Regions from separate parts of the Homo sapiens genome. Here all the other regions are linked to region 5. Evidence: promoter capture Hi-C in human tissues and cell types (Jung and others, 2019). All regions are on one chromosome and are shown on one strand. Each heading gives the region's core, a stretch centred on a gene start or on the middle of the fragment in contact. The rest is flanking DNA. Distances are from core to core; before and after follow the strand shown. Region 1 overlaps LOC105370839 (a long non-coding RNA gene). Region 2 has its middle 140 kb from the start of FOXB1. Region 3 overlaps LOC105370839 (a long non-coding RNA gene). Region 4 has its middle 140 kb from the start of FOXB1. Region 5 holds the start of FOXB1 (forkhead box B1). Region 6 has its middle 150 kb from the start of BNIP2. Region 7 overlaps LOC105370839 (a long non-coding RNA gene).

Region 1 (3,231 bases), core at 527-3,026, 190 kb before region 5:
ATACTTTTCCTTCCACGAACTCACCACAATGAATAGTTGATGTTCATTTGTGTAATTGTTTCATGCATGGTGCTTCCCATCCCAAGACAGGCTTCATGAAGAAGGGAAATCTTGTTCACCATCATATCCCTTGTGGCCACAATTCCTAAGTACATGATAGGAGCTCAGTAAATGCTTGTTGAGTAAATAAATGAATGTCTTAAAGATTTCATTGGAAGATTCTTTATTTATGCCTCTCTCCCTTCTACCTTGAATCACTAGTTTGAAAGTAAGTTCAAGAAGGAAATTACAAGCCTGCTCATCTCTGGATCTGGAGGTCTGGAGCATCTGTCTGAACAAAGAATGGGGATTGTGGTTGCTGAGCAACAAAATAAAAAAGTCCCAGAAGAACACAGCTAGCAACATCCCCAGGTCAAATTCTTGGATTTTGGATTCAACACTGTTTTCTGTTTATAGCTTTAGCTGCTTTTGGAATGGGGACAATTTGCCTCTGCTGTGTCCTCTTCTTGGCACAATTATTTCAACCTTTAGAGTATTGCTAGTCATTGCTAGTCTGTTTTGAAGGGAGAGAGGCATGAACTCTAAAATTACATCAGTTATACCCGGAGTTCTTAAAGGAAAAGAAACATGGAATCATTGGATGAAATCGTGTAATGGTGAATAAAGAAGGTTGAAAAATGTATGTAAGAACATTTATCAGTTAAAAAAACCAGTGCTCTTCAGAGTACTTAGTTTTCAGCATGGGACTTTAATTTCATGATGATCCACCTTTTTTGGTTGCCTTCTCCTCCTCCCCTTCCTCCTCGTCTTCCTCCTCCCCCTCCTCCTCGTCTTCCTCCTCCCCCTCCTTGTTAGTGTGACTGGAAAAATGTTTATGTACACGATAAAAATACAAATTTGAACCTCCAAATTTGTCTCTGAATATTAAGTGACAAGATGATGTGCAGTATTTTTCAGAACTACCTGGGGGAACACAACTATTCTGTTACAGTTAATAATACTTGCAATTCTGTTCAAAACCACTTTTAAAAACCTGATAGCTGCTTCATGGGGTGACATTGTCTTCCAGCTTATAGTTTAGAATTCTTGGTTGAGTCCATGCTTGCAAAGTAGCTATTTGGCTTATTAATTTAACCATTCGTGCTTACCAAAATCATCTTGAATCCATGGAGGTGTTCTCATGATGTCTTTAAAGACATACTTCTAAAATTTGAAATAAACCTTTCATTGCATGTATACCATATAATGACATTTTATGTTGCAGTATGTAATAGAAATAGACTAGAATGCATGTAATCATCATAAGGCATACTTTTTGTTACCAGCCCTTAGTTCCTTTTTCCAAGTGGGTGGAGACATGCAAACGTGTGTGGAAAGGGAAAAGGAGGGGGGCAGAGATTGGAGTGGAGATTAAGTTAGAGAAGAAGAGGGAAGGCTTGGGGCAATTGTGCAAGTTTGGGAAAGGAAGCTTTAAATATTGAGGTCTGGAGCAGGGTATTTTCAATCATTTAGTCAAGCAATAATGATTGATTCTATAAGAGGCACTATGCTGGTAAATTTAGAAGTGAAAAAGGATCATGATGCTTAGCCTTATGAAGTTTATAGTCTAACAAGAGAAACGGGCATTAAACAAATACTCATACAAATAAATATGCATTTGTAAATTATAATTTAAAAAACAACAGATATAATAAGATTACATAAGGGAGTCCTGATTTAGATATACGAGAAGCCAGGGAAATTTTTTGTTATTAAAGGCACTTGTCAGCTGAGATGTGAAAAATGGCTTAGAATTGGCCAACCACAGAGAAGGGAAAAGAGTGTTTCAGGCAAAGAAAACATACAAAGACTCTGAGGTGGGAAAGAGCTTGGCACCTTTAAGAAATGGAAAGGAGGTCAGAGTGGCAAATGCAGACAGGAAGAGGAGAGGGAACAGGGCCTCTTCAGGTAGCCTGTGGTGGGAAAGGGGCTTAGAGTTTCTCCTTAACACCATGGGAAGGCACCCAAGAGTTGTAAGTTGGGAGTGGCATGATCAGATTCGGTTTTCAAGAGCACTCTGGTTAAAGTATGGGGTGCAGAGTAGGAGAACAAGAGAGGTGATGGGAGTGTGCTAAAAGTAACAACACGATGTGAAATACTGAAAGACCCCTTGCCTAAACTTTCCACATCTTCCTATTGCTGATGCTTAAAACTTACTTCCTTTGGTTTGAAATATTAAAGATTCCCTAATGTGTTATGCAAGGGAGGGGATCAACCATTATTATGCATTACAATATGAAGTACTAGGTCCTCTTCCAAGCTGCTAATAGAGCATATGGTGCAACCACTTTAGAAAGAATCTGTTGTGACCTTATCTCTACTAGCTCTATTAGTAACATCTGATTTTCTTAAACACAACAATTTGAGGCAAATATTGCAAAAATAATACTTATTAAATGTGTGTTGTAGAGAACTTTATATCAATGGTAAGGATGAAAATATGGAAATATTTTTTAATCAAAAAATGAAATTCTGGCTGGGCATGGTGGCGCATGCCTGTAATCGCAGCACTTTGGGAGGCCCAGGTGGGAGGATTGCTTGAACTCAGGAGTTTGAGACCAGCCTGGGCAACATGGGGAAACCCCGTCTTTACGAAAAATACAAAAATTAGCTGGGCATGGAGGTGCACACCTGTAGTGCCAGCTACTCCAGGGGCCTGAGGTGGGAGGATTGCTTGTGCCCACAAGGTTGAGACTGCAGTGAGCGGTAATCATGCCACTGCATTTCAGCCTGGGTGACAGAGTGAGACCTTGCCTCGAAATAAAATAAAAAATAGAGTGAAGAAAGCAGAAAAGGAAGAGACCTTTTTTGTGGACAGTTTTACCTAGAGTCCCTCCTTTCAAAAGCTAACTTCTGGTTTTATCAAAGACTGGCCTCTGTTAAGAATATGACTTCACTTTAGGAAAGTTTAGGCATTTCTAGAATTTGTTTCCCATCTCCTTGCTTGAATGGAAATGAACCTGTGATGGAAAAAAAAATGAGGAAAACTAAAAAAGATGCAATCCCAGCATTGAGGTGCTGGGGGCACAACTCCAGGGGCCAGTGTGATCTATACAACACAGCTGTCTTGACCAGAGCTGATTTTCAATTTTTCTTTTTGGCAGGGGAAATGGGCATTGAATTAGGTGGGGATGCTTGAGGGGCCTCAACTGTATCTGTAATGACTCACTTCCTTAAGAAAAAGATCTGAAA
Region 2 (2,883 bases), core at 117-2,616, 140 kb after region 5:
GCGTGGCCTTGCCCAAGGTCACAGAGCAAATAAGCAGCAGAGTGGGGAATTGAACCCAAGTCCTCTAGCTGGGTTCCATACCTTTTTAATCAAACTGTTGCTGCCACTGAAATAACAGACTACAGAATCAAGGACCTGAGCTGAAGTCGCACTTGATAACAAATTGCCCAGACTTGGAATTCTTTGCTTCTACCCGACGAACTAAAGAGAAGACAGCTTCCGTGTAGGGAAAACTCTCTCTAACCATGTTTTTCCTCTGTTCTCACATCACAATAATCATCAGCACAGGAGAAGACTTCTGTGACTATATGTGTGGGTTTTTTTTCCTCACACACCAAGCAGTGGACACCAGCTGGGTGTCCTCTAATTCATTTCTGGCACTGTCTACCTGGAGACGACGTCAGATCTCACAGGTTGAGTGTTCAGTCCCCAGCCAAGACTGGCCCCCTCTAACACACACCAGTGACAAGCCTGGGCCTCCGGAACTTCTGACCAACTGGCTTCAAGTTGGGGTTCCCATGATCCCCTCTTTGGGTTCAAATAATTTGCCAGAGCAGCTCACAGAACTCAGGGAAACACTTACCTACATTTACCAGTTTATTATAAAGGATATTGCAAAGGATACAGATGAAAAGATGTTTAGGGCAGGAAATGGGGGAAGGGCTCCAGAGGGTCCATGCCCTCCCTGGACCCTCTGGAGGAACCTGCAGTTCGGCTATCCAGAAGCTCACTGACACCAGCCCTCTTGGGTTTTTATGGAAGCTTCATGATGTAAGCATTTCTTCCCCAAGGTATAGAGGGGTGGGACCCTCTCATGGGAGGGTCTTAGGACCCACAATCAGAAAGACAGGGGAAAAGTAGAGTCTTGCCTTGGAGCAGATGAAAGGAGGGCAGGAGGAGGTCAGAGGCTGCCCATGTGGCCTCATACACCCAACATTATAACAAAAGACTGCAATAAGGGCTATGGCTATCAGCCAGAAACCGTGGACAAAGACCGGTATGTATTATAACACCACAGCCTTCCTACCACACATAGCAGCAAAGTGGCTGTGTTTAGACTTAGAAATATATATACCTGAGCTATTTTACTAGGATTATTTTTCTTCTGGAATTTAGGTTCTTTATCAAGGCAGTGTTCAGTTGGAGAGAGTTTTTTTTTTAATTAACAGCAAACTAATAATGTAGGATTTCCACAAGTACTCTCCCGTTTCTGTGAGTTCATTACAATTTGTTCTTCGCACTGACTTCTCAACACAGCACCATGAGATTTTCCTGCATCTGCACGTTTACGTAAGCAAAAAAAGTGCATTCAAATCCTTCTCTCTAAAGCATATTTCCACACGACAGCACTCATCTTGCTAGAGAGTGAGGTTGTCTGAAGACTACTTTGGGGTGCCTAAGCCAGCATGAATGGGGGCACCAGGTTATGTTCCACTGAATTTAATTTAATTAATTAATTTATTAATTTATTTTTTTGAGATAGAGTCTCACTCTGTTGCCCGGGCTGGAGTGCAGTGGTGCAATCTTGGCTCACTGCAACCTCCACCTCCCAGGTTCAAGTGATTCTCCAGCCTCAGCCTCCTGAGTAGCTGGGATTACAGGCTCCCACCACCATGCCTGGCTAATTTTTGTATTTTTAGTAGAGATGGGGTTTCGCCATGTTGGCCAGGCTGGTCTCGAACTCCTGACCTCAGGTGAGCCACCTGCCTCGGCCTCCCAAATTCTTAGGATTACAGGCGTGAGCCACCGCGCCCAGCCTTATGTTCCACATTTGAATTCCTCATTTGCAAGAGGGGGATTTTAGTAATAAAATGCTGCTGAAATTGGTCTATGTCTAAATCAGTGTCCTGAGAAACAAGATGGTAATGAGGTGGAAAGGATGGATAGTAGGAAATGTATCTGGAAAAAATAATTCCATCAGGAAACCTTGTGATGGACCTCTCCTTGAGAGTTGGAACAGAACTCCTCTTAGGCATTTGTTTAATATCAACCCATGCCTTTTTGTTTGTTTGCTAGTTTTTCTATTTTGTTAAACTGTAAAATTCCTCTCACTTTTTGCTCATTTCTCTGATCATCAATTTTGAAATTGAGACATATTTTAATATGGATTTTTTGGTCATCGTTTCCTTTCTTCAAATACTACTATTAAATGACAGAGACTGTCAAAGTGGACAGGCCATTTCTTCACTGGCTGTGTGGAAGGAGTGATTTAGCTGTGTCTTCACTATTGTGAAGGCTGGCCTGAGGTACTTCTTATGCAAAATCATCTCTGGTACGACATATCCTCCAGACCAGAAGTTGTAAGGCAGAAGGCTCAGACCAAATCAGGCTCATGGACATATTTTATTTGGCTCACACAATTGAAAAAAAATCTTTTTAATAGTTGCCATCTTTTTTTTTTTTTTTTTTTTGAGATGGAGTCTCACTCTGTTGCACAGGCTGGAGTGCAGTGGCGCCATCTCAGCTCACTGCAGACTCTGCCTCCTAGGTTCCAGCGATTCTCCTGCATCAGCCTCCCAAGTAGCTGGGATCACAGACGTGCGCCACCACACCCAGCTAATTTTTGTATTTTTAGTAGAGACGGGGTTTCACCATGTTGGCTAGGCTGGTTTTGAACTCCTGACATCAAATGATCCGCCCACCTCAGCCTCCCAAAGTGCTAGGATTACAGGCGTGAGCCACCACGCCCAGTTCTTGCCATCTTTTTAAATTGGGAGAGTTCACATAAAAATCCTTGTTTCTGGCATCCTTTGAAGAAATCCAAAGCTCTGCAAACTAGGCATGCAATTGCCCATAGTGACAGGAGCTACCAATCCTACGGGTGGGTCCTTTCAGAAGGGGCATTTGCAGGCCATGCTGCCATGATCCCCGCCTCTTCCTGAT
Region 3 (2,753 bases), core at 18-2,517, 230 kb before region 5:
TACCGCTGGAGGTACTGAATTTTGTGGGTTTGACTCTTTCTTGCCTTGTTAATTGCTAATTGATTTCATTGTCCTTAGCTTCGGTAACCTCTAGGTCATCGTCAAGCCCAAGAACACAACACATATCTCATTTCCAAACTCAATTCTTCCCTGAATGACATGGGGGGACTTTGTAAACAGGTTGAGTTGTGAGTATCATTTATATTCATTAGCACTAATTAGTATGTACATTCAGCCAGAGGCCGAAACACATCTTTTCTAAATGGAAAGGGTGTGTAAATAAATGGCTACTTCTGCACATTACATTAAATATGGTTTCTCTTTTTCTTCCCTTTCTTTCCTAGTCTGCTATGATGATTCCATGTCTCCCCCACTTCCTCATCTCCACTCCCAATTAGAAAATTTGCTCACTATTTCCCCTATCTGGTTTTTAAATTTTTTTTTTCTTAATAGGAGGGGAAGAAAGGGAAGAACATAATCATTAATTTCTCTGGTGTCTGGTCTGTTAACCTTTTCTCTTTCTTTTGGTCTCATTATTTTATTCTACCAATACTTCTTATGTCATCAGAATTATCTTGGAGGATACCTGATGAATCCCACTTCTTTGATCGATGGTTGCAGAGTTGGTGAGAGTGAGCCTGTCTGGTCACTGCCTGAGATGGTGCATAAGCCATGGCTCTTCAACACACACTTGGGTGGCTGGGCCACCATGCCCATGAGGGTCAGTGGCCCTTCCCACGTGACAATTGGCAGGTGGATATAGGCCTCTTCTACTTCGCAAAGATGTGGTTGGCAAGGGAACAGCATGCCAGAGGGAGAGGAGAGGAGTCGGCTCTTCAGTACACCCCTTTCAGAAGGTTGCCAGCCCTGATTTCATCCAGTGGTTTATTTACCACTGAAGGAGTGAAGGATGTGCCATCCCAAATATGCCAGATTAGTATATTGATTATTTCAAGTTGAAAACATTGGAGAAATTGTTTCAGAGAGGGTGAGCTGAGCTGTCTCTTCCTGCATGCAGCAAGGGACAAAGATTCCTCTAGGAGGGGAGTCCTCACTATACCATGGTGAGAAAATATTCCTATTACCCACAGACTGGTGATTGGAGGCTGCAATGGACCCTGAATTAACATACTTCCTGAAGCAACGCTATCTTCCACCTATTTCACCCCTGCTATATCTCCTAGTGATTCCCCTAGAAAATTTGCTATCCTTAGCCAGATTTTCTTTTCTTTTTTTTTTTTTTTTTGCCTTGCCATTTTTTCCTCAAATTTATTGCTCTTTGTCTCCATCTTGCTTTGGTCACTTCTTCAGACTTTACTCTCTTATGCAGATCCCCATGGACATGCAACATGAATGAAATGTGTGTACTTCTCTCTTGTTCATTCATCTTCCTAGTGTCAGTATTCAGATCCAGCTGAATATCCCACCAAGAGCTGAAAGGAGGATTGGAGGTGATCTCTGGCTTCCCTACATCGTGCCTGTCATCTTTCCAGAATGCTGTGCTCTCAAAGGGTTACATCCACATCACAGGGGCTGGTCCTCAGCTTTGGAGTTGGTCACTTATTTCTACTTGCAATTCTGCTCAGCTTCGATTTTAGAGAACAAAAGTCTGATGTGCTGCTTTCAAAATGTAGATATAATGATGTTAAATATAAAATGTTGCAAATAAGTTGTCAAAGTTTATTACACCTCTCTCTCTTCCCTGAGCATAAATGACATTGACTAGTCATAGCAGCAAATTCTTATTTTGGAGTGTGCTTTCAGTTTCTTGGTCTAATTATAGTATCAGAATAAAAAGTTCCATTTCCCCCCACAGTGGAACCAGTTGTCAGAACTTTGTTTCTTAAACTGTGGAGTTTTAAGTTTTGATGATAGCTACATTAGGGGTAGTTCTGGCATTTAAAATGAGACCCAAACAGAAAATGGAAGGTTGTCGGTTAATTCCCTTGGAGTAAATTAAAAGATGTATCTGCAGTTAAAATAGTAAAATCAATAGAACAAAAAATACATCTAAAGGTCATTTAAAGTAAAGGCGATTTTTTTAAAGCTATTAAAAAGTACTTAATCGTGTCTTTTAAAGTTTATCTATATTTATAAAGAACGATTTTTCAATTAACATACATTGGTTTAATTCGTTGAACCTGTTGGCAGTGGTTAGGGATGATTTATCCTCCTACTTTCTTCCAATGCATATCTTTGCACATGCAAGCATTAGTTGAGGAGTTTATGATTTGGAGAAAATAGATAAGACAACCTGGGCAGATTGCCAAGCACAGGCTATATGGAATGTTCTGGGAGCCAAGATTGAAGTAGAGCCTGGATAAGGAATGATACCACAGTAGGAGTGACCCACACTCTGGGCCAGCAGTTTAAAGATGTGGGTGGGTAGTTTGAGGTTTTGGAGCAGGTCATGACCATGCAGCAATCTAGAAACCCAGACTCTGGTTCTGGCTTCATTATTGACGAGCTGTGGAATCTTGAGCTAGAACATCTACTTCTCTAGGGTGAGTTTTTCGTGTGCACCATGGGAATCACAAAGCCTGTGCTATGGAAATTGTGAAAAGGCAATGAGACCCAGAAATAGAATTCCCATTAGAACCGACAGTGCCTACTTATGAGAGTACACCATCTTAGCTTAGGCTTCTCACTGAATCAGTTTTTGTAGTGATTTTTTAGATGTTAAAATGTGAAATAAGAAACTAAAAGACTACGGGTAACACTCTATTATACTAATATTCAGATTTAAGTCTTAT
Region 4 (2,873 bases), core at 106-2,605, 140 kb before region 5:
ATACAGAAATTAGCCAGCCATTGTGATGGGCACCTGTAGTCCGAGCTACTAGGGAGGCTGAGGCAGGAGAATCGCTTGAACCTGGGAGATGGAGGTTGCAGTGAGTCGAGATTGCGCCATTGTACTCCAGCCTGGGTGACAGAGTGAGACTCCATAAAACAAATAAATAAATAAAATCAAAGATAAAGACTTAAGAGCAAAAGAAAAGATAGTCTTCAAAAACACTGACAGACTCTCAACAGAACAAAATCAGGCCAGGTGCGGTGGCTCATGCCTGTAATCCCAACACTTTAGGAGGCTGAGGTGGGCGTATCACCTGAGGTCAGGAGTTCGAAACCAGCCTGGCCAACATGGCAAAACCCTGTCTCTACAAAAAACGTAAAAATTAGCAGGGCGTGGTGTCATGCGCCTGTAGTCCCAGCTACACGGAGGCTGAAGCACAAGAATTGCTTGAACCCGCGGGGCAGACGTTGCAGTGAGCCAAAATTGTACCACTCCACTCCAGCCTGGGCAATAGAGCAAGACTCTGTCTCAAAAAAAGAAAAAAAATTAGAACCTGGAAGATAAATGAATATTATTATGAAAGTGCCTAGACATTTATACCCAGTAAAAAGACCCTCCAAAAAGAAGGTGAAACAAAAATATTTTCAGCCAGGAAATAAACTGGTAATTTAGGCCTATACTAAAGGAAATAATAAAGATGTTCTTCATGCAGGAAGGAATGATACCAAATAGAAGATTGCAAATGGACAAAGAATGAAGAACAGAAATGGTAAACATGTAACTAAATCTAAATAGATATTGATAGTATAAAACAATTATAACAATAATACTATTGGATGAAATTTATGTATAGAGAGAAGTAAAATATGTAATAGCCATACCATACAAGTTCTAAAGCCTTGCCTAGTCAAGGAAGTGGTGAAAATACTGATTTGTATTAGACTTTGATAAATTAAGAATGCATTTTATAATCTCAGGAGAACCACTGAAAGAATAGTAAAAGAATTCATAAAAATAATTTATAACTACAAAGAATAGTAATAGAATGTATAACTTTCCCAAGCCAAAGGAGGAGAAAATGGAATAATCATAACAAAATCAATCTAGTGGAAGGCAAGAAGAAAGGGAAAAAGAGAGATGAATAGGTACAAATAGAAAAAAATAGAAAGGTGGTGTATTTAATCCCAAATATATCAGAAATTGCATTATAGAAAAATGAAACAAATATCCCAATTAAAATACAAAAATTTTCAGACTCAATACAAAGACCAAACCCAACTGCATGCTGCTAAAACAAGGCATATCTCAAATATAAGGATATGAAAAAGTTAAAAGTCTGAGAAAAAAATATAGCATGCCAACCTAAACTGAAGAGGAGCATTTTATGATAAAAGCTTCAACTCGCCTGGAAAACGTAACAATACGAACTCTGTCAGAACATTGGCAGGTCTAAGAAACCAATAAATCCACCATCATGGTGGCTGACCTCAACACATCTCTGGGTAACAGAAAGAACAAGCAGACCAAAAATCATTAAGAATGTAGATGTTTACAGCAACATGTTTAACAAACTTGACTGAATTGAGAGATATTATACAAAACTCAATGCTGAAGACTAGACATTCTTTTTAAATGCAAGTGAGAATTTCCCAAAATTGACGACTTTTGGCCATAAAGCAAAGATGAATACATTTCAATGTATTAAAATGATATAAAGTATGTTCTCCGACCATAGTCGTACTAAGCTAGGAAGAAATAACCACAAAGAAAGTGAGCCAATTATCATATGTTTGGAAATTAAGCAATACATATCTAAATATGATAAGAAAGAAGAAATCACACAGGAAATTAGAGAATATTCTGAACTGAATGATAATGAAAATACTACATATCAAAACTTGTGAGAGGCAGCTACAGCCTTCTTAGAAAGTATAGTACTAAAAACAGATGTTAAAAAGGAAGGAAGGATGAAAGCCAGTAATCTAAGCACCTGTCTCAAGAAGTAAGAAAGGGTCAGAAACTAAAACTAGATAGTGTAAAAGGAAAGAAGTTTTCATAAGAGCAAAAATTAATAAGAACAAAATGCATGAGGAAATCAATACAGCCCAAAGTTTCTTTTAAGAAAACCTATGAAAATGGATAAATCCATGGTGAGTCTGATCAAGGAAAAAATAAAGATTGCTTAAATAACCAATATGAAGAATACAAATAAGCAAGTTACAAAAAAATCTTTTCACCATTAAAAAGATAATAGTGGAATATTACCACCAACTTTATGCTAAGAAGTTAGAAAATTTAGATGAAGTAGAAAAATTCCTAGAAAAATACAACTTTCCAAAATGTATACAGGAAGAAATAGAAAAACCTGTATAATACTAAACATTTAAATAAATTTATAATGAAAAACTTTCTACCTACAAAACACCAGGCCCAGCTGTCTTCAATAGTGGGTTCTACTTAATATTTAAGGAAGAAGTAAAACCAGTCTTATACAAAATATTTCAAAGAATAAAAAAAGGAACATCCCAACTATTTTTATAAAGCCAGAAGGATCCGATACCAAAACCTGGCATGATAAAAACATAAGAAAGGAAAATGACAGCCAAATCTTTCCCATAAGTAAAGATTCAAAAATCCTAACCAAAATATTAGCAAGCCAAATCCAAGGATAAATAACAAGTATGGTACATTATGACTAAGTGCAGCAATTACAAAGTGTTGGCTAAGTGAAAAACTTATGAGATTCCAAAGGAATATACACAACACGTAAAGCTTTAATGAAGGTGAAGGATACGATACAGCAGGAAAAAGAATGCACGAAGAAAACATGAGAGAAATCTCAGATTTCTAGACATAGCTTCCAATTTCCT
Region 5 (2,909 bases), core at 81-2,580:
TCGATCATGCCGGCGGAGCCATACACGTGTGGCCAGCCGGTGCCCAGCGAGCTGCCCATGGTAGTCAACTGGTTGGGGAGCGGGTAGGCAGCGGGCACCGGCTGCATGGCGGAGAAGGCCAGCCCCCCAGGCATCTTGTATTCCCGCGCGATGATGTTCTCGATGGCGAAGGGGTGCTTGAAGCCCGAGGGCTGCGCCACGCCGCCCAAGTTGTAGGCGGCGGCGGGCATCTGTGGCAGGTGCGTGCCCGAGGCCGCCAGCGCGCTGAGCCGCAGCTTGGCCTGCTGCTGCAGGTACTGCGCCGCGTCGGCTGGCTTGCTGGGCGCCAGGTGGTCGGACTTAAGCACCTTGAAGCGCTTGCGGCGCCGCAGGAAGCTGCCGTTCTCGAACATGTCCCCGCAGCTTGGGTGCAGCGCCCAGAAGCTGCCCTTGCCTGGCTGGTCCGGCCGCCGCGGGATCTTGATGAAGCAGTCGTTGAAGGAGAGGTTGTGGCGCAGACTGTTCTGCCAGCGCTGCGTGTTCTCCCTGTAGTAGGGGAAGCGGTCCATGATGAACTTGTAGATCTCGCTCAGCGGCAGCATCTTCTCGGGAGAGCTCTGGATGGCCATAGCGGTCAGCGAGATGTACGAGTAGGGCGGCTTCTGGTCGCTGTACGTGTTGCGGCCGGGCCGAGGCATCTTCTTCCTCGCCCTCTTCTTGCTCTGGGTCCGCGCGGGCCGGCGGACTGCTCGGATCTGGGAAGGGGGTGGGTAATAGGGAAAGGTAGCATGGATGCACAGAGACACCGGCGGGGTCAGCCAGACCGAGTAACAGACTTCGGGGGTCGGGGGTGGGGCCTGCGGCGCTCGATCAGCCAGCGCCCGGACTCTTTCGCCAGCAACTTTGCGGGCTTAGTGGGCGCGGGAGGGGAAGCCGGCGAACGGCGCGAGGATAGCCGGGAAGTAAGTCGGTACTGGGGCCAGAATAGGGGGCAGGGACGGAACAGAGAGCTGCTCACCTTAAAGTTGCTTCAAGTTGCGCGTCCGCATCCGGGAGGACGCCGCTGCGCGCCGCTTCTCTCTCGGCGCGCACTCGACGCGCACTCCGCGCGCAGCGTCCGGGTCCGGTTGGACTCGGCGCGAACCTGGGCTCTTGAGCTCAGCCCCGCAGCGTCCCGTGCCGCCCGGTCCGCGACGCTCCTGGAGCGTCCTGCGGGCGGCCGAGCTCGGCTGCGGAGTCCCGGCGCGGATGGTGGCAGCGACGTGTTAGGGCTCCGGAGGGCGCTGCTGTGGGCTCCGCGTCTCCGCTGAGCTAGGTGGCTGCCTCCATGTCCTCCCTCGAACCATCTGATAGTTTTAAGCGGTGACAGGAGCAGAAAAGACCCCTGTAGCGGCGCTTCATTAATGTGCCACTTCTTAGCTATCATATGACAATCGCCTTGGGAGGAGGAGGAAGAGGAGGGGGAGCGGGGGCTGCAGAGGGAGGGGACTGAGCGAGAAGGGAGAGCCCGGCCAGCTCTGGTTTCTTTCACACCTATTTACATGGACACCTTGGCCAATAGGAATCACTTCCAGCTCAAGACTGGGCGAGGGGGAAGAGCCTCGGCCACTGGGCAGGCAGCTGGACGCGCCGGCCGGTGTGCGCCGTGTGAAGGTATGAGGAAGCGGCCGCCGCGGAAGAGGGAGCCAGGCGACCACTCACGTTCACAGATGGAGCAGCCGCGCGGATGATGTTTGACATGGAAATTGCTTGGCTGGGGTATTCTGTTTCCTCTGCGTTGTATCCGGTTTGTATCGTTAGGTAACTTTAGGCACGGCTTTCCCCTGAAGCCGACCCTTTTCCTGCGCTTAGCACTACCCGGGGTTGGTTGCATGGGTTATAATAATGAAAACACACCCTTGCCCCCCAGTCCCCGGAGAGTTAGGTCGAAATTTGACTTGACTTTCCTATGCAGCTGCTTCAGCTTTGTATAGTTAGTGTGTAGCTTTGAAAAAGTGATGGGGTTTACAAATACTTTCAAAATGTGATTGGACATCCCCATGTAAGAACCCATTTTGAATGTAACTGTATTGACCAAATTTTTAAAAATTAAAATAGTGTATCTGGGCGAAGAGTCCAGGTATTTGCTTTAAAAGTCCTCCGGGAATTTGGTTGGACACAGGATGGAGGCTCAGGAGCTGTTGGGGCAAATGTTGTGCGGACCTGGGGAGGGCCTGAGTTTGTTTGACACAGTTTATCACCAGGTAAGCCTCAGGGGCTCTCGCTTTTCCCAGGTGGTTTGAAACTTTAGGACTCAGGCACATCCTGGAAGTTTTCATTTTACACCCGGAACTCCCCTTCCCAGCCCTCCCACCCCCCCAACCTCCCACCCCCCATCCCCCAACTGCCGCTTTTTTTGGTATGGAGAACTTATTTAGGATTTAGAGTGTAGCAAAAGCCGCCTGCGATCCCACTAAGACAGCAGTATCTTCTACAACTTGGGGAAAGAACCATAGAGTTTTCCTTCTTGGGGAGCGGGGAATGTGCCTTGGGTCACTCCGCCTGGTGCGAGCAGCAGGCTCCCTTCGGTTCGGATTCGCCTTGGAAGGGTTAAATGAATCATTATTATTATTATCATTATCCTCATCGTCGTCGCTGCCGTCATCATCATCATCATCAAATTGCTATGAAATAAATAGTGAGTCGACCCCGCCTGCATGCACGCACTCTATAAGTACACACCAGGAGTTCCCACGGGTTTCTGCACATTCTCCGACCTTTAAGGTTTTTAAAAGACATTCATTTTACTGCGTTGTTAAAAACTCAATACTTACAGCCCACACAGAATCATCTTCAAAGTCCAGAAATGGGAGAACTTTTTTTTTCCCTAGACGTGGTGATCGTAGAGAATTCTGGGTGTTAAGTTTCAACACTTTAAGTGATATTAGAGC
Region 6 (3,113 bases), core at 59-2,558, 160 kb after region 5:
AGGAGGGGCGGAAGGCAGGAAAAGGGGCCAAACAGCCTCCCTCAACCCTTTTAAAAGGGCACAATCCCGTTCATGGATCCTTTGTGACCTAATCACCTCCTAAAAACTCCACACCTTAATACTATCTCTTTGGGGATTATGTTTTAACACAAATCCTGGAGGGACACAAATATTCAAACCATAGCAATGTACTAACTTATCTTCTAAATATGTTCTACAAGGTGTAATTCCATTTGAGGTGTTTATACTTAATATGGGAAGCAAATCCATTTCAGTTTGACTTTGACATTTTGAACCTTCTCATCCAAGCCACCAGGTCCCACGCCAGCAGGAATGAGAGGCTGGATGAAGTTGAAGATATTAATAATAACAACTATGATTTATCAACTGTTTTCTGTGTACTGGGCACTGGGCTAAATGCTTTCCATGCATAGCTTGTTTAATCTTCAAAACAACCCTCTATGGTGTTTTCTTTTTTCATTATTTTTTAATTGTGAAAGGTACTGGAGTGAGTTCATAGGTGAGGAAAATGTTATTTCGAGATAGTAAGAAATTTGCCCATGGTGTCATAGCTATTACCAGTACGTACCACAATCATCCACTTTCATCCAGATCTGCATCTTGGTGACTGACAACTAACCTTGGCTCTCTCCAAAATAGCTTCTGGTACAGTAAATAGAGGAAAAGAAGAAATATATTTATTCTTCATCCATGAAAGAGGGGCCTGAGGAGAGTGACAGTCTCTCATTAGAATTTGGAAGAATTTCATGGCAAATATTGAAGCAATGAGTGTGAAATTTGTTCAGTATTCCAACAGCAGGCTTCCCAGTGAAGTCACTATACAAATATCTTCTCAATTAGTTGAAAGCTCTGTGAAAGAAAGACGTGTTCCCCCCACTGTTTCTCCCAGCAGCCTCAAGCATGTTTTAGGAGGCTGTTAAGGAAACGATACAGGACTGGGAAGAAACAGAACGTTTCTGGAATCCTCAAGGATGCAGACTCTTCTCACATTAGGCAAAAATTATTCTTGATTCATAGCTTAGATTCAAGACCACCCAGTCAGAGGGAAGCTGGCCCTGCCTGACTCTCCTAGATGGCTGGATGGAGCCCAAGGTCTGGCCTCCTCAAGGCAGCTTGGGAATGGCATCTTCTTTAATCCACATCCCTTCTGGCCACGTCCCACACCTGTTAGCCTGGAGGGCATCGCCTGCAAGAGAGCAGGTGAAGTAATTCATCTTAGGGCTGGCAATTACACGGGTTGGTTATGCACTTGGATCACAGGGGGCCAAGTGGAGTCTCTGTCAGGTGGATTTCTGGATTTCTGCCTCACTTCACCCTAGCAGAATGAAACAGAGGCCAGCTATGGCCATCTTTCTCTTCTTTGCCATTTTCTCCCACCGCTCTCCCCACACACTTCTGCTACCTGTAATTTTTACTGAATAAGAGAAAGCTTAAGCCAACTTGAGATAGGCAAACCGAAGAATTTTTCCAGTTGGCTAATCTAAAGCATAAGGCTCCATGCTCAAAAGTGACCTGGTTGAGACCAATGTATGCTTGGCTCCTCCTACAAACACTCCTACAGACCCCTGGGGCACCTGCGTGGTGCTTTTTCCAGAGCTGTGTGTGAGGTGACCTGAATGAGAGAATCCCTGGGTATTGCACCGTGAAGATTAAATGTGCTAATGCAGGCAAGCAATGAGAACAATGCCAGGCACATAAGAAAAGATTAGTCAATGTTAGCTACTATTAATGTCAGCCAACTATCCCTTCCATTGATTAATAAGGAAACTGAGGCCCAGAAACGTAAAGTGACCTTCTCAAAATGGCATAGAAACTCAGCAGCCATTTTGGAACTGGAATCTCAGACTCATGGTTCTTTTCACATGTTATTCATTCACTCAGTAACCATTTATTAAGTTTTTAATTCTGTACTGGACACTGACCAACGATGCAAAAGTGGAAAAGACATGAAAAGAGAGTGGAAGAGCCCAGGAGGAGCTTCTTGTTTAACAAAGGGAAAATGGTGACCCATGTATATCACATGATGATAGCTGGCTGGGGTCTAAGGCCGATTTTCAAGTTATCTGGGTCTTTTTGAAATTTCTACCAGGTAAAGTCAATAGTAATGATGCTTGATGCCAAGTTAAAACAATTATTTTAAAATATTAAATATTAGTAATTATTTATGCATTTATTGAGTATTTATGCAATTCACCTCATATTCCAGTATTTTTTCAAAGGTGATTGCACATACTGGTAACATTCTGACAGCTAATCATCCCAGCGATGATTCTTACGAAAACGTTCCATAGATTCACCACTGCTCCTCCCATGAGATCCATTTCAATCCTCAAGATACTCCATGACAGAATGTTAGGATACTTGAGGACAGCTTTGTGCTTTGGAAAAAGCTTCCCTTTCTCCTTTCCTCCCTTCCTTCCTTTTTCCTTTTCTTTTCTTTGCTTTCCTTTTTTTTTGAATCAGTGTCTTACTCTGTTGCCCAGGCTGGAGTACAGTGGCGCAATCTCAACCTTCCAGGCTCAAGTGATTCTCCAACCTCAGCCTCCCAAGTAGCTGGGACTACAGGTGTGCACCACCACACCTGGCTAATTTTTGTATTTTTTGTTGAGATGGGGTTTCGTCATGTTGTCCATGCTGGTCTCAAACTCCAGGGATCAAGTAATCCTCCTGCCCTGGCTTCCCAAAGTGTTGTGATTATAGGCATGAACCTCCTTACCCAGGCTCTTTCTTTCTTTCTAAGATCAAGATCCTCCATTTAATGAACAAAGATCTTGAATAATCATAATCACCTTAGAAACAGGATTTTACATTCCATTAAGCAAGACTAGCCAGATGTAGGCCTGGAAATCTAAATTTCCCTAAAATAGTAACAACAAAACTTTGAAAGGGCAGGAGAATGCAAAGTCCTCAAATGCTTGGTGAGCATTTAGGGAGTTTGCATTCTACTGTCCTTTCTTTAGAAAATGACAGAAGCTCCCTTGGCATGGGTCTCACACGGGGTGCACTATAGACAATTAGAAAAGATGTCACCTTTACATTTAGAGTCTGACATTAAGGACATGAAGGAACTCTTTGAGTCATGGATGGGGGAA
Region 7 (2,993 bases), core at 310-2,809, 240 kb before region 5:
ACCTTGCACATAATAGAAGAGACAGGTAAATTAAAACTGCACTGTAGTAATCTTTTTTTTTTTTTTTTTTTTTTTTACCACTTAGGCAAAGGCTAAAAGTTTGCTAACACGTCCTGGGCAAGGATGTAGAGAAATGATCACTTTCATAAATTGCTTGTGGGAGTATAAATTGGTGAAAATCCTCTGGAGGGCAATTTGGCAATGGAATGACAATTAAAAATATTCCCTTTTATGCAGCACTTCAACATCTAGCAATTTACCTTATAGATATACCTATGCATTTGTATAATTTATGTAATAGATAACTTATTGCAGAGTTGTTTGTCAGAAGATTGGAAAACTTGGACATCTATCCATAGGGGACTGCTTAATACTTATGATAACTTCCTACAAAACAATACTATGCAACTGTAAAAAAGAATGAGAATGTCGTTCTCATTCTACTAGTAAATACTTTCACAAGTAGTGTAAGTGCCATATAACATATCGTTTATATTAGGATTTTAAAAGATCTCTAAGATATGTTTCACTGTTAGGTAATAAAAGGAAGGTGAATAATAGCATAATATTTTGGATAAAATAGAGGAAGGAAATCATATACTGTGCTTGTATATATATATTTAAAGTCTCTGGAAGGATAAACCAGAAACTAACAATAGTGGTTGTTCGTTGGAGAAGGATGGGAACTGTGTAGATGGGTATATGGATGGCAGGGAGGCTTTTCAGACTATGCACTTTAGTGCTCTTTGATATTTGAACCACCTGACTATTTTACCTACTAAAACCAATAAATGAATAATTTTTTAAATCTAAATATGAGTGTAAGAACTTAAGTAAAACTTGCATGTTTGAAATGGCACCCCAAAAATGAGTACAACAGGATTATAACAGGAATCCAAAGAGCTGAGCTCTTTGGAATTTGTGTTGCACTGAACTTTTGAAAAAAATACCACATATGCAAGATATGTAATCCAGGAGTTCAGTCACTAAATGCTGTTCCAAGCTATGATACCTGAATCAGTGGATTTTAAACCCCCTATACCTGCATTCGTGGTTCTATGGTGATGATTAATGATGTTTTGCTTTATAAGCTGTAGGCCCTATGAGATGCTTACATAAGAAGAAAAGATGCAATTTTTTTCATTTGTCTTAAATTTACAAGTGGTTTTGTTTTTGTTTTTAATAGGCTTAAATATGCCAGGGGTGCTTTTCTGGATTGGTTGGTTGATTGACTGATTTCACTGAATATAATCAGACCACTGGGTTTGTGTTGTGCTTTAGTTCACAGTATGCACTAAAATACTTAAACCATCCAAAAGTATTTTACTTAATTTTTCATTCATTAAAAAATATAATTAAACAGGTTAATCAATTTCCAATCACAATATTTTTCTCACATCAAAGTAATAAATGTTTATTGTACAAAGTTGAGAAAATTTAGAAAAGAAGAAAAAATTATACAGAAATAATCTTGATAGCTTTTTGATGTCTTTTTCTCATCTGTATTATAGGTTAAAAAATTGTTCCTACTTTTTTTGATCAGTTTTTCATATAAGATTTTACATAACAGCATTTCCAATGTTAATTACATTCTTGAACATGATTTTTAATAACTCTTGTGTATTGCACTATTTGGATGTCCCATCATTTATTTAATCCTGTAGTCTTGGACATCTAAGGACAACCTATTTCTGAAGCACTTTGTTTAATTGGAGTTTTCCTATATCTTACTTAATGATGAATTTAGTTGGCTTTGCTTAAAATGCTCTGTAGAATTGTCACACTGGCTGCCTGAGAAGGATGTGATCCTTGGTCTTGTCCTGAGTGGATCCAATCCCAAAGGCCAGCTTTGAAACAGGTGTATTTTATGATCCAAAATGTGGTCATCTTTTTGTATGCTCTAGGTTGAGACTATATATTCTGTTGTTAGATAAACTATCCTCTAAATGTCAATTCATATTGATGGTGCTATTCTGTTCACTCTATCTTTACTAATTTTCTACATGCTGGATCTGTCAATTATAGAGACAGGTGTGATGAAGTCTTCAATTATAATAATGGGTTTCCCTATATTTTCCTGCAGTTTTATCAGTTTTTGTCTCACCTATTTTGACATTTTCTTGTTAGGTGCATATAAGCACCGTGTATCTTGTTGCAGAACTGATCGCTTTGACATTATGAAATACCCTTCATCCTGATAATTTTCTTGCTCTGAAGTCTGCTTTCTGAAATTAATATAGCCACTATAGCTTCTTTTGATTAGTTCTAACATGGCATATCTCTTTCCATCCCTTTACTTTTACCCTATCTGTGTCTTTATATTTACAGTGGATTTCTCATAGATAGCATACAGTTGGGTCTTGTTTTTCAGCCACATTGACAGTCTCTGTCTTTTAACTGGTTTATTTAGACCATTCATTCTTAAAACTATTATTGATATAGTTGGGTTAGTATCTACCATTTTTGTAATTGCTTTATATTTGTTCTTTGCTTCTTTTTTCTTATTGCCTTGGTTTTAATGGAGCATTTTATTATTCCATTGCTCTCCTTTTTTTAGCATATTGATTATAAGTCTTAACATTTTTTAGTGGTTGCTCTAGCATTTGTGATGTTTATTTACATAATCTAAGTCTACTTTCAAATAATACTATACCATTTCACAAGTAGTGTAAGTGCCATATAACAAAATATTCCCAATTTCTTCCTCCCATCTCTTTATACCATTAATGTCATCCATTTTACTTGTCCATAAGCTATAATTATTAAATATATTGCTATTATTTGGACAGTTATCTGTTAGGCCAGTTAAGAATAAGAAAAACAACACATTTTATTTTACCTTCATTAGTTCCTTTTCTAATGTTCTTTCTTTTGCTTTATGTAGATTCAAACTTCTGATCTATATAATTTTCCTTCTTTCTAAATAATTCCTTTTAACACTTCTTGCAGGTCTACTGGCAACAAATTCCCTCTTTTTTTGTTCTGAGAAAGTC

Evidence for each region. Contacts are between HindIII fragments. The study calls those that stand out against the background at their distance.
Region 1: a fragment that was not itself captured here is called in contact with the fragment with the promoter of FOXB1 in region 5 in 2 of the 25 tissues and cell types used here (H1 embryonic stem cells and mesendoderm cells).
Region 2: a fragment that was not itself captured here is called in contact with the fragment with the promoter of FOXB1 in region 5 in 2 of the 25 tissues and cell types used here (aorta and dorsolateral prefrontal cortex).
Region 3: a fragment that was not itself captured here is called in contact with the fragment with the promoter of FOXB1 in region 5 in 2 of the 25 tissues and cell types used here (IMR-90 fibroblasts and lymphoblastoid cells).
Region 4: a contact is called between a fragment that was not itself captured here and the fragment with the promoter of FOXB1 in region 5, in 2 of the 25 tissues and cell types used here (dorsolateral prefrontal cortex and lymphoblastoid cells).
Region 6: a fragment that was not itself captured here is called in contact with the fragment with the promoter of FOXB1 in region 5 in 2 of the 25 tissues and cell types used here (pancreas and spleen).
Region 7: a fragment that was not itself captured here is called in contact with the fragment with the promoter of FOXB1 in region 5 in 2 of the 25 tissues and cell types used here (mesendoderm cells and thymus).

Annotation. Positions count from the first base shown.
Region 1 is chr15:60,192,987-60,196,217 of GRCh38, reverse strand. The region is part of intron 2 of LOC105370839 (a long non-coding RNA gene); the gene reads right to left. Among named protein-coding and RNA genes, the nearest start is that of FOXB1, 190 kb to the right of the region's middle. The HindIII fragment of the contact is 7,201 bases long and covers 1-3,231 here.
Region 2 is chr15:59,863,052-59,865,934 of GRCh38, reverse strand. No RefSeq gene overlaps it. Among named protein-coding and RNA genes, the nearest start is that of FOXB1, 140 kb to the left of the region's middle. The HindIII fragment of the contact is 4,657 bases long and covers 1-2,883 here.
Region 3 is chr15:60,227,827-60,230,579 of GRCh38, reverse strand. The region is part of intron 2 of LOC105370839 (a long non-coding RNA gene); the gene reads right to left. Among named protein-coding and RNA genes, the nearest start is that of ANXA2, 170 kb to the left of the region's middle. The HindIII fragment of the contact is 7,970 bases long and covers 1-2,753 here.
Region 4 is chr15:60,143,185-60,146,057 of GRCh38, reverse strand. No RefSeq gene overlaps it. Among named protein-coding and RNA genes, the nearest start is that of FOXB1, 140 kb to the right of the region's middle. The HindIII fragment of the contact is 4,675 bases long and covers 1-2,873 here.
Region 5 is chr15:60,002,732-60,005,640 of GRCh38, reverse strand. It overlaps FOXB1 (forkhead box B1), which reads right to left and starts at 1,330. Exons shown (of 2, transcript NM_012182.3): 1 at 998-1,330; 2 at 1-734. The coding sequence starts at 677. RefSeq lists an enhancer at 1,134-1,649. The HindIII fragment of the contact is 14,342 bases long and covers 1-2,909 here.
Region 6 is chr15:59,841,866-59,844,978 of GRCh38, reverse strand. No RefSeq gene overlaps it. Among named protein-coding and RNA genes, the nearest start is that of BNIP2, 150 kb to the right of the region's middle. The HindIII fragment of the contact is 6,288 bases long and covers 1-3,113 here.
Region 7 is chr15:60,245,311-60,248,303 of GRCh38, reverse strand. The region is part of intron 2 of LOC105370839 (a long non-coding RNA gene); the gene reads right to left. Among named protein-coding and RNA genes, the nearest start is that of ANXA2, 150 kb to the left of the region's middle. The HindIII fragment of the contact is 7,723 bases long and covers 1-2,993 here.